Regions from separate parts of the Homo sapiens genome. Here region 2 is linked to region 1. Evidence: promoter capture Hi-C in 16 types of primary human blood cells and fetal thymus (Javierre and others, 2016). All regions are on one chromosome and are shown on one strand. Each heading gives the region's core, a stretch centred on a gene start or on the middle of the fragment in contact. The rest is flanking DNA. Distances are from core to core; before and after follow the strand shown. Region 1 holds the start of ALG14 (ALG14 UDP-N-acetylglucosaminyltransferase subunit). Region 2 holds the start of RPL5 (ribosomal protein L5).

The links. Contacts are between HindIII fragments. The CHiCAGO score rates a contact against its expected background, and 5 or more counts as called.
Region 2: a contact is called between a fragment that was not itself captured here and the fragment with the promoter of ALG14 in region 1, in 2 of 17 cell types (total B cells and total CD8 T cells). The highest score is 5.5, in total B cells.

The regions. Positions count from the first base shown.
Region 1 is chr1:95,069,804-95,075,659 of GRCh38, forward strand. It overlaps ALG14 (ALG14 UDP-N-acetylglucosaminyltransferase subunit), which reads right to left and starts at 3,148. Exons shown (of 4, transcript NM_144988.4): 1 at 2,960-3,148. The coding sequence starts at 3,095. RefSeq lists enhancers at 2,590-2,669, 2,910-3,269. The HindIII fragment of the contact is 2,572 bases long and covers 915-3,486 here.
Region 2 is chr1:92,830,031-92,835,936 of GRCh38, forward strand. RPL5 (ribosomal protein L5) reads left to right here and starts at 2,010. Exons shown (of 8, transcript NM_000969.5): 1 at 2,010-2,087; 2 at 3,359-3,428; 3 at 3,515-3,630; 4 at 4,749-4,883. The coding sequence starts at 2,085. It also overlaps a transcript of DIPK1A not described here. RefSeq lists enhancers at 1,759-1,808, 1,812-2,450, 1,979-2,298, 2,451-3,088. The HindIII fragment of the contact is 260 bases long and covers 2,555-2,814 here.

The DNA.
Region 1 (5,856 bases), core at 1,898-4,397:
GTCACAGAAACCAAGAACTCCTTCTCCCAAAAGCTGGTCATAAAACCTAAAAATACTACTCTAATTTTACTCCACCTTTCTGTGTAAAAACTGGCCATAAAGAAATTATCCGAGCTGGGGAGCTGGGCGAGGTGGCTCACACCTTTAATCCCAGCGCTTTGGAAGGCAGGAGAATTGCTTGAGGCCAGGAGTTCAAGACCAGTCTGGCACACATAGCAAGACACCATCTCTATTTTTAAAATTAATTAATTAAATTAAAAAAATTATCTGATCTACCTTGTTTGACGGTAGGTCATAAGACCCCCATTCCAGAGAGGGCCCTACCCCACATCCAGAAGGAAAGGAATGCATGCTCAGAGAGACCAAGAAAAATCTAGACAGGCCTTGCTGGGCTTCCCTACTGTCTATTAGCATTAAATTATACCCTTTTGTCCAGTCATAATTCTACATGGCTGTCCATACTTTGCTGAACCTAAGCATAAAAACAGACCATTTCCCTTGTATCTCTGGGTCTTCATTCAGAACACTTTCATATATGCTTCATAAATTTGTATGCCTTTTCTCCTATTATTTCTGCCTCATCAGTGATTTTCAGTGAAACTTCAGAGGGCAAAAGGGAAGTTTCCCCTTGGCCCTTACAGTAGCCAACCAAATCTTGTATCTGTATGTTGGCCTTTGTATGGAAAATATTGTAATTTTGTTCAGCATCTCTGTTCTTGCGTATACAAACTACCTTCATTCTTCCCCACATGGGGAGCACTGATTACATTCTTTGGTATAGGTTTGCTCCCCAGACACCCAATCTCACGCTTTGTGCTTGAATAAACTCTTCTAACTGGATATTGAGCCCTTTGATTATTTTAGGTTGACACTATATGTCAAGCACTTTACTGAACACTTTATTTTTTAATTTAAGCTTTTGATTATATCATTTTATTTTATTTCATTTTGAGACAGGGTCTCACTCTGTCAACCAGGCTGGAGTGCAGTGGCACAATCTCAGCTCACTGCAACCTCCACCTCCCAGACTCAAGTGATCCTCCTACCTCAGCCTCCCAAATAGCTGGGACTATAGGTGCATGCCACCACATCCACCTAATTTATTTATTTATTTTAATGTAGAGACAGGGTTTCACTATGTTGCCCAGGCTGGTCTCCAACTCCTAAGCTCAAGCAATCCGCCTGTATCGGCCTCCCAAATTGCTGAGATTACAGGTGTGAACCATCACGCCCGGCCTAAACACTTTAAATATGATCCTATTTAATCTCTCCTGTCCTCTCTCAACCCATGTAGAAACAGAAGGTTCAGCGAGGTTAACTAATTGCCTGAGATCCCCAAGGTAGTAAGTGGCAGAAATGTGATTCATGTGTGGTGTTATGACAACCTAGAGGCCTGTGGTCTTAACCCCTACATGATATCAACAGTGGAGTAGCAGCAATTGCTTTATAAAGCAGGATTTTAGGCCAGGGGTGGCTCACGTCTGCAACCCCAGCACTTTGGGATGCTGAGGCAGGAGGATCACTTGAGGTCGGAAGTTCAAGACCAGCCTTGGTCAACATGGTGAAACACTGTCTGTACTAAAAATACAAAAATTAGCTGAGTGTGGTGGTGCGCCTGTAATCCCAGCTACTCGGGAGGCTGAGGCAGGAGAATGGCTTGAATTTGGGAGGTGGAGTTGCAGTGAGCTGAGACTGCGCCACTGCCCTCCAGCCTGGGCAACAGCGTGAGACTCTGTATAAAAAAGAAAAAAAGCAAGATTTTAAATACTCTTTACAATCTGGACTCAGTTTACCTCCCTACATTGAACTCTACACGATAGTGTTCTCTCAACTCTGGTCATTCCAAGTGTTATCACCTTCTTTTCACATCCTCCCAGCCCTCGAAACCCTGGCTGTCCCTCATCTGACTAATTCTGGGTCATCTTTCAAGTTTCAGTTTAGCATCATTTCTTCCAGGAAGCTGTCTGTTTTTTAAGACCTGATAAAGTAGTGCCCTTCCTGAAGACTGCCATAGCAATTTGTACTTCTTACACAATTATTACAAGATTATAGCATTTATCTCATTGTGGCAAATACTCATTTTGATTTATTTTCTGTTAGTTTTTTTGTATTCTCTATTTCATTTACTGCTGTATCTTTGCATCTCTCACAGGACTTAGCACGGAGTCAGCACTCCGTGGCAAGTAATGTTAGTCAGTTTTGTTATTTCCAGAGGTTAGTTTAGTGTTTGGTCTTTCTAACAGCTCAAAACAGATTAAGTGAATAAAGTAATGCGTTATACTTGAACATAAACTTAGTACATTTACTCATACTATACATGTTCTATCTGGATGCAATCTCCTGCCATACCCAAATGTTTACATTGTGTCTGTGTGTGTCTGTCTGTCCCTGTCAAATATGTGTATTTAAAATTGTAAGCACCTACAGAGTTGGTGGATTTAGATTGTATTACCTGACAGGTCAGTGTGTTGCTCACACTCTGCCACCGCGTGTGTATTGTTCTACAGCCCGTAGATCATTGTTTTTATCCTCTTGGACTTTGTATATTTATAAATGTGACAATTCATTTTGCCTCATTTGTCATGTAGCATTCGTGTTTCCTAAACTAAATACGCAATACCTAGATTAATAATGCACAACAGCCATACGGGGAAACTGCATGTTTGCATCAAAAGGCTTCTACGTTCTCTGTTCACTAATTGTTTGAAAAATATACGCTACAGAGAGTCTTAATTATAGACAAGTGTAAATTACTTGTCATAAAAAAAACCTCTGGGCCGCGTCAGCAAACCAGCCCCTACCCTGGCTGGACTGCCCGGTTCCGGCAAGGCAGAGAAACTACAAATCTCTGCATGCAACACTCCAAGAAGTGCTAAGGGTACCAGGGAAGAGCGTCGCGGTGCACTCTGGGGTTTGTAGTGACCAACCCAAGTCCGACAGTCGCCTCCTCGATACTTACCGGACCCAGCCACTACCAAGATACTGAGAGACTCCCGGGGCGTAACGTCCATGGAACGAAGCACTACCCATATTCGCAGGATTAGGAAAACCGCCACAGCTCCTGCGGCCGCAGCTAGAACGAGAACGCACACCATGCAGAGAAACGGCGCATGCGTCCAACTTCCGGGGACCAGCCGCTGTCAAAGTTCACAACTACGGGTGCCGAAGCGACTCAAACGCGGAGGACGCACGTCTTGGTGGGCTGGTCTTTCCTGAGCTGGGAGGAGTGGAGGCGACGGAGAAGCTGAGGTCCCAGTCACAATCCATTTTACCTCATTTATCATGTAGTATTCGTGTTTCCTAAACTAAATACGCAATACCTAGATTAATAATGCACAACAGCCATACAGGGAAACTGCATATTAGCGTTAAAAGGTTTCTACGTTCTGTACGTTCACGTTTGTCAGCGGAACCCCTGCTTCTGCGCGGATTGTGCGCAGCTGCAGCCAAGCGTAAGCTGAAAATTGTAAAGTTAAGCGCTGGGGAAGCTTGATTTACGCCCACGACGAGGTCAGGCAGTCTCTGCGCCCTAAAGGTCCCGAAACTCCCCAGTTAGGAGGTGTTCTGGCTCTGTCAACTTCGTGAATGCCACCTGAAGCTAAGGGAATACATCCTTTCTTTCTTTCTTTTTTTTTTTTTAATGCCAAGAGAAATGTTTCTGTTGCACACAGACATTACTGAAAGTGTTCGCCAGTAAGGACCCTAGGCTTAAACATCGAATTTAGGGCCCTCATCCAAACCCCCTGTCTCCCAACATGTATGTTTTTAACTTTTCTCGAGGTTTTCACAGCTCTCAGTGTGACCAGAGTAGTTGAGGGTGACCACCTAAAGGTAAGCCACACTCCTAAGAGGATTGCAAAGCTCAGTGGCTCTAGGTAGCAGGATAGACAAGGCACAGTCCTACAATTAATATTCAGTTAATTTTATCACAAAGCATTTCCAGTGTGTTTCTCATGTCCTCAGCCAAAATGATGATCTGCCAACACCCCCTTCAATCTCAATTTTGCTTATGTCTAATTAATTAATTGTTAATAAATTAATTATGTCTAATTAATCCACATTACGACAACATAAAATACTAAGATCAGGAGCCCCTTCACCCCAAATATAATTTGCCTTCGGTCCACCATAGACCTACCTGTAGGTTATATTGAACAGGTATACAGATGAGTAAAAAGGTTCAGAAAGGTGCAACTGCTTGCCCAAGTGGAATAGCGTCAGATCTAGAATCAGAAACCAGAAATCTGAGTCCTGCTGGACAGGAGTACTGCATCCTGTATTCCTTTGCTAAATTCAAACTTGCCTGATCACCACACTTACCTGGAGCCTAGAATGTGTTATTAAAGGTGCAGACTCCCAGGGTCCATTAGGAAACACTGAATCAGAATTTCCGGGGATCGGGCACCTGGGATTAGCTTATGTAACCAGCGTGTCCATTCCTATCAGCAAGCAAGTTTGGGAGACTTTGTGAGTAGAGTCCGTGGACCTTACAACACTTTCCAAATTGTCTTCCATCAAATCTTCTTTCTTTTCTTTTCTTTTCTTTTTTTTTTTTTTTGAGACAGAGTCTCACTCTGTCGCTTGGCTGGAGTGCAGTGGCACAATCTTGGCTCACTGCAACCCCCACCTCCCAGGTTCAAGCGATTCTCCTGCCTCAGCCTCCCAAGTAGCTGGGACTACAGGCATGCACCACCATGCCTGGCTATTTTTTTTTTTTTTTTTTTTAGTAGAGACAGAGTTTCACCATGTTGGCCAGGCTGGTCTCGAACTCCTAACCTCAGGTGATCTGCCCGCCTCTACCTCCCAAAGTGCTGGGATTACAGGCATGAGCCACTGCGCCCGGCTCCATCAAATCTTCTTAACTATACATTCTCGCAGTAAGACCTTAAAGTGGATATTAGTTCCCTTTTTACAGACAAAGAAGTAGATTCCATAAAAGTTAAATAATTTGCCTAAGTCTACTTAGCTAGTAAGGGTGGAGAAAGTTCATAGTTGTGGACTTAGAAGTCAGTGTCTCTCAAATTTTAATGGAATCAGAATTCTCTGGGCTTACAAATGCGTAGTTGGAAGTCCAGAGGTAGGGTCTTTGGTGTAGTAAGAAAAACAGCTCAAGGATAATACAAGGAGTATCATTTACTTGTATATGCCCACTCTGCCATTCCTAATAATGTCTTCAACCTGAAACAGTCTTACCTGATACTTAAGACACTAGTGGTCCCAGAATGGGATGTGTGGATGGTTACATCCAACAGGGCAATCTCCATAGCCAAAAAAGAGGTTATCTTGTCGGGTCTTTTTTGCCCCTCCCCCCCAGTCTTGCTCTGTGGCACGGTCTCGGCTCACTGCAACCTCCACCTCTGGGATTCAAGCAATTCGCCTGGCTTAGCCTCCCAAGTAACTGGGACTACAGGTATGCGCCACCACACCCAGCTAATTTTTGTATTTTTAGTAGAGACGGGGTTTCACCATGTTGGTCAGGTTGGTCTTGAACCTGACCTCATGATCCGCCCACCTCAGCCTCCCAAAGTGCTGGGATTATACGGGTGAGCCATGACGCCCGGCCTGCTTTATTTTTTATTTTTTTAAAGGCAAGGAAACTTATTCTAGAACCCCTCACAGCAGACTTTCTTTCACTCCTTTTGGCCATACTTATATCACTTTCCCAGGCATAAAAGGAAAGCGACTTCAAAGCTGGTGGAGGTGGGAGGAGGATGATCTACAACTCACCTGTAATACATGGCTGTTGGATGGAGGGTGGGTACTGAACAAAATAGGCATTCTCTCAGTGAGGAGGAAGCTGCAGGGAGGGTTGTTGGGTAGGCAAACAATAGCATCTAGATTGCTGTGATGATGATG
Region 2 (5,906 bases), core at 1,435-3,934, 2.2 Mb before region 1:
GTGTTTTGTGTTCTTCTCAGTGCATCAGGAGGCATATAATGTTAATTTATTTTTTCTTTGCTTTCCTTTTTCTTTTTCCCTAGAGATAGAGGTCTTCTTATGTGCCCAGGCTGGTCTCGAACTCCTGGGCTGAAGTGATCCTCCTGGCTCAGCCTCCCAAAATGTTGGGATTACAGGTGTGAACCTATAATGTTAATTCATCCCACTATTGGTGGTTTTTTAACTTTTACCACTTGAATAAGATGCTGTTGGCTGAGGATGCTGGACAATTACCCCCTAGCTCCTGGTGTCACCAACTGCACTGGCTGAACCAGCCATGCTAGCCACAGACCCCTGACTGTGACCAAGGGGAATAGGTATACATATTTTTAATTTTCTTGTTATGGATTTATAAGGTAAGAAGGAGAGGGATAAGGATGATAAAGTATATTTAATTTAACATGTTGTTTGTTTCATAACTTCTTTTTTTGGATTTTATTTTTTATAGAGACAGGGGCTCACCAAGTCTCCCAGGCTGGTCCCGAACTCCTGGGTTTAAGTGATCCTCCTGCCTTGGCCTCCCAAAATGCTGGGATTACAGGCCTGAGCCAGCACATCCAGCCTGCTTCATGACTTCTTTCTTTTTTTTTTTTTTTGAGACGGAGTCTCACTGTCGCCAGGCTGGAGTGCAGTGGTGTGATCTCGGCTCACTGCAACCTCTGCCTCCTGGGTTCAAGCGATTCTCCTGTCTCAGTCTCCCGAGTAGCTGGGACTACAGGTGCGTGCCACCATGCCCGGCTGGTTTTTGTATTTTTAGCAGAGATGGGGTTTCACCATGTTGTCCAGGATGGTCTCGATCTCTTGACCTCGCGATCCGCCTGCCTCGGCCTCCCAAAGCGCTGGGATTACAGGCGTGACCCACCGCACCTGGCCTGAGCTACCGTGCCCGGCCCACAACTTCTAAATATTCAGATGAATAGTATGTGGGTCTTCCTATGAACCCTTGCCCTAAAACATGCAGAAGTTAGGAGTCGGCCTGTTTCCAGGCAGACTTTCCTTCCTGATGCTTTTGCCTCCAGTGTAAGCAGGGCCTGACCAAGACATGGAGCACCTTTGGTAGGCTAATAACTTGATAATCCACCAAAATGAAGGTTTTTAAATATTTTCTATAAATACGAATTGAATACCTCTTTCTTTACCCTTTCAAAGGTGGCTCCACAAAAGTAGAATCACACTTCCTGTGAAAAGTGTTTTAAGTTTTCTCCTCTAGAGCTCTGTTGACATCGGCCATAGCGAACTCTGTTTATTTTTCCTATTATATAAGGAATTACAAGTTGGAATCAGAAGTAATTGGCATCCTAATCCTGATTTATTCTAGTGGCAGTGTTTTGGAGTCACTTAACCCTGTCATCCTGGTTGGCCGTCCCTTCTCCCAGCTCTAACGGTGAGCAGCTGATACCCTGCTAGGTGCTGGAGAGTCAGAGGTGGACATCAGGGCCCACCTCGAAAAGTTGACAGTCTGTGGTGGGCTGAAGCCAGTAGAAAGCTGCTGTAGGAAGGCAGAGGAGTGGCCCCTATCCCAGGCTTGGGGCTCTCAGGGAAGGCTTCCTGGGGGTGAGATGGGAGGGTGGGTCCATATGCTCTTGGACCAGAATGAGTAGCCCAGAGAAGGCAAGAGGGCTCCCAAGCAAACTTGTCCTATTTAATTTTTTTTTTTTTTCCTGCTTAGAAAAGCAAAATGCGTTATGAACAAAACAAAACAAAACAAAACAAAACAAAACAAAACAAAACAAAACAAAACGCTGTAGCAAAGAAAGCGAAAGGCTCCAGTAATCCTCCCTGCTCCTCCTCACCGCACGGATCCTGTGAGATACCCCGAGCATTGGAACCTGGAGAGCTTGGGCAGGCATTCACCCTCCTTCCAGCAGGGGGCGGAACGTAAAACGCCTTGTGGCCGACGCCCTCTCTCTTTCACACGTCACTGGCGTGACCGTCCGCGCTACATACTGCGCCTGCGCAAGGGCTGTGGCCCTTTTCCCACCCCCTAGCGCCGCTGGGCCTGCAGGTCTCTGTCGAGCAGCGGACGCCGGTCTCTGTTCCGCAGGATGGTGAGTGGATGCCTCGGTCTCGGGGCTTTAGATGCATGGAGGTTCCCTTTTCTTGCCCGTATGCCAGCCTAGGGCCCGTCTCGCGCGTCGCAGGGGCCGGATGGCGTTAGATTGCTAGCTCTGACTTGGTCGAGGTGCAGTTCCCAGCGTGGCCTTAAATGGCTGCCGCCCGGTGCGCGAACTTGGGGGGAGGGGTTGGCGAAGAAGGGTTGCGTGAGCTTGGACGGCGGATTGGGGAGAAGGGTGAGTTTAGTAGACAGCCTGAGTGCGGATACTGCCGTCTAGTGTGAGGGGGCGCTGGCAAGCGGCCGGGCGTGAGAGGTCGCAAGCAGTCGACCTCAGCCTAGCTGGGGAACGCCAGAATGGAGGGGGGCTGCAGGTCCTCGGGTCCCACTCGACCTCCGAGTACCGAGTACTTCGTGGGTTTTCCAGGAGAATGTCGGAGCCGGCAAGTCTTAGATTTAGGAAGCTTGTGCCCGTGGGCTGAGCAAGTGGCTTTTAAGCCAAAATTGTCAGTGGAGCTTGGAGGCCGAGGGGTCCCTGGGCCCCGGAAGCTCCTTTAACATGGAATACGTGCCTCCTGCCTCTTCCTCTAGAGTCCGTCGCCGGATGAGTTTTTAATTATTGGGGTAGGGCCCCAAGGGTGGGATGAAATGTTGCTTTAGCTGATGGGGAACAGTGCTGTTTTAGTGGGGGAATTACTGCTGAATGTGCTCTTGCCCAGTTAAGCTTTGTGGCAGGTAATTTAGGCTTTTGAAAAACATAACATGGGAAGCGAGAGAGGTACGTAGTTGTTATTTGAGGCTAGGTTTTCGAAGTGGGACATAGCGTGTTCCGAACAAACCGACGTTTGGCATCACTGATTGCTGTCTGGAGCAGTGCTTCGCAAAAGTTTGGCACAATTACCGGTGCTGGTCCTTGAAGAAACAAATATGGAAATTGAAAGCGTTTAAAACCTTTTGAAAGCAATATAACAATAATTTTATACCTGTTAAATGTAATAAATTGGGGCCTGCATTTTGTATGTTTCTTTTATTCCATATTTCTCTAAGGATTCATTTTTATTGTTTTATGAAACTACTAGTCTGTGACATGGAAGGTAGAGGAAAAAGATTCTTGACCCTAGTTGCTTGTGAAACCTGGGATTCTACAAGTGACAGTTGTCTGTTTACTCTTGAAGTTCAAGTGTTACTTTGTTACATGGTTAATTTATGTCAAAAGTATCATAGGCTAAGACATCAAAGTTTTAATAACATTCTTTTTTCTTTAAGGGGTTTGTTAAAGTTGTTAAGAATAAGGCCTACTTTAAGAGATACCAAGTGAAATTTAGAAGACGACGAGGTACTGTCACCTTTTTGTGTTTACAATATTAATCTGCTTTGCAGATGCAGTGGAGTATCCTTTCTACAATTATTTTTTTCTTTCAGAGGGTAAAACTGATTATTATGCTCGGAAACGCTTGGTGATACAAGATAAAAATAAATACAACACACCCAAATACAGGATGATAGTTCGTGTGACAAACAGAGATATCATTTGTCAGGTAAGTTGTATTCTAGACAGTCCCCTTTTTTTATTGCTAGAGAAATTGTGCTTGGGAAGCAAAGCACATGGTGTGTGTGTTAGAAGGGCTGTCTAGCACCTCCAAAAGCATCCAGTGAATAATTTTTCCTTTTAGTAGGTCTAGAATTGGAACCTGGGAACTTGGTACTTTAAAAAATGCTCTTGGTTGCGCTCATGCCTGTAATCCCAGCACTTCGGGAAGATTGCTTGAGCCCAGGAGTTTGAGACCAGCCTGGGCAATATAGTGAGAGTTTGTCTTCACAAAAAATGTAAGAAAATTAGCTGGGCATGGCGGGGCGCACCTGTAGTCCCAGCTACTCAGTGGGAGGATTGTTTGAGCCCCGAGGTTGAGGCTGCAGTGAAGTGAGATCACACCCAGCCCTCCAACCTAGGTGACAGAGCAAGACACTGAAACCTAGTTTATGTGTGTGGGGTGGGGAGATTAGAAGTAAGTAAGAAGTTCTTGCCCATCCCAATTCCAGTAGAAGAATAGGGTTTGTCCTGATTTTTCCTATATGGCCTTATATGCCACTTAACCACTGAAAAGGTAGTTGTGAATTAAACAGGGCTTTAAGATTGTTCTGCTTATTCTTTGAAATAGGTTTTAATAAAATGTACAAAGGTGGCTCCCGCATGAAAGACCTTTAGGAAGTGTCAGTTTTGCTCTTGTACTAAGAGCATTCTCACTGGACTCTGAAAGCTAGAATCCTGGGCTTTTACAACTAGGAGAAATTCTGAGAGTTAAGATTTATTGATATTTTGCAGCAGGTAGGCACACCTGTTTCCTGGGCAAATAGTTTGTTGATTGTGAAGGCATTGTCTTCCTCCGTACCCAAGTTCAGATAACTAAACGTTAGGTTCCTGAGACTTTGCTGACTTTAGTTATGTTTAGTTCAAAAGATGATTGAAATATTTGGGTATTCCTCTTTGACTTTTTAAGCACCTCTAATTTACTGGTAACCCAGCTAAGAGTCTTAAGCATTTTAAGTGATGTTCATCTGTGTCCATCAATGTTTTTTTATTCCCTTGAAAAATAATTAAGATGTAGTAAGACAGTGAAAGCAACAGATTACTAACCTAGTTTCTCTCTTACTATAGATTGCTTATGCCCGTATAGAGGGGGATATGATAGTCTGCGCAGCGTATGCACACGAACTGCCAAAATATGGTGTGAAGGTTGGCCTGACAAATTATGCTGCAGCATATTGTACTGGCCTGCTGCTGGCCCGCAGGGTATGTACAAGATGATTTTAATTGATGTAGTTTGTGGCTGATTGCTTGGAGAGTTTTCTGCAAGATGTTTGTACATGGATAAGATAGCTTAAGTTGTGCTTCAGGAGAGTGCTTGCTTCCAGTTTTCTGCTTTGTTAATGGATCTATCTAGGTCAGCTCTTTCCAATAAAATTTTCTGCAATGACACAAATCTGTAATTTGCTGTCCAGTGGTTTTGCCACTAGCGACCTGCAGCTGTTGAGTTCCAGCAGTATGTAAACTTGAATTTGAAAATCCACTTGTAGCTAGTGTCTACTTAATTGGACAATGAAGACCCTTGCTACTTAGGTATACATTCTGAATGTTGGCAAACATTAAAAATGCAGACTCGTGGGAACTCCACTCTAGACCTTCTGGAATCTGTATTTTGATAGTATGTACCAAGTGATTTATATGCACATTAAAACTGGAGAATCTTGGCTAGGCGCGGTGGCTCACACTTATAATCCCAGCACTTTGGGAGGCCGAGGAGGGTGGATCACTTGAGGTCAGGAGTTTGAGACTAGCCTGGCCAGCATGGTGAAGCCCTGTCTCTACTAAAAAAGTAGAAAAAAAAAAAAAGCCAGGCATGATGGTGTGTGTCTGTAGTCCCAACTACTTGGGAGGCTGAGGCAGGAGAATCACTTGAACCCAGAAGGCAGAGGTTGCAGTGAGCTGAGATCACGCCATTGCACTCCAGCCTGGGCAACAAGAGCGAAACTGTGTCTCAAAAAAAAAAAAAAAAAAATGAGAATCTTAGTGTTTTGGAGAGTGGCCATTGACGGGAAGATTCATTTTTGTTTTAAACATTTTTCCTGGTAGATGAAGATGGGATTTTGCCTTGTTTTTATTATCTGAGTTTTTTACCTTGTTTTGCAATGGAATTGTTAAGCATGTGCAGCAAGGTTGATGACAACCCACTCATTGGTTATAAACATGTTTTAATGGAGGGAACATTGTAAGTATAAGAATCAAGTTTATGCATTCTCATTGATTGCTGCATAA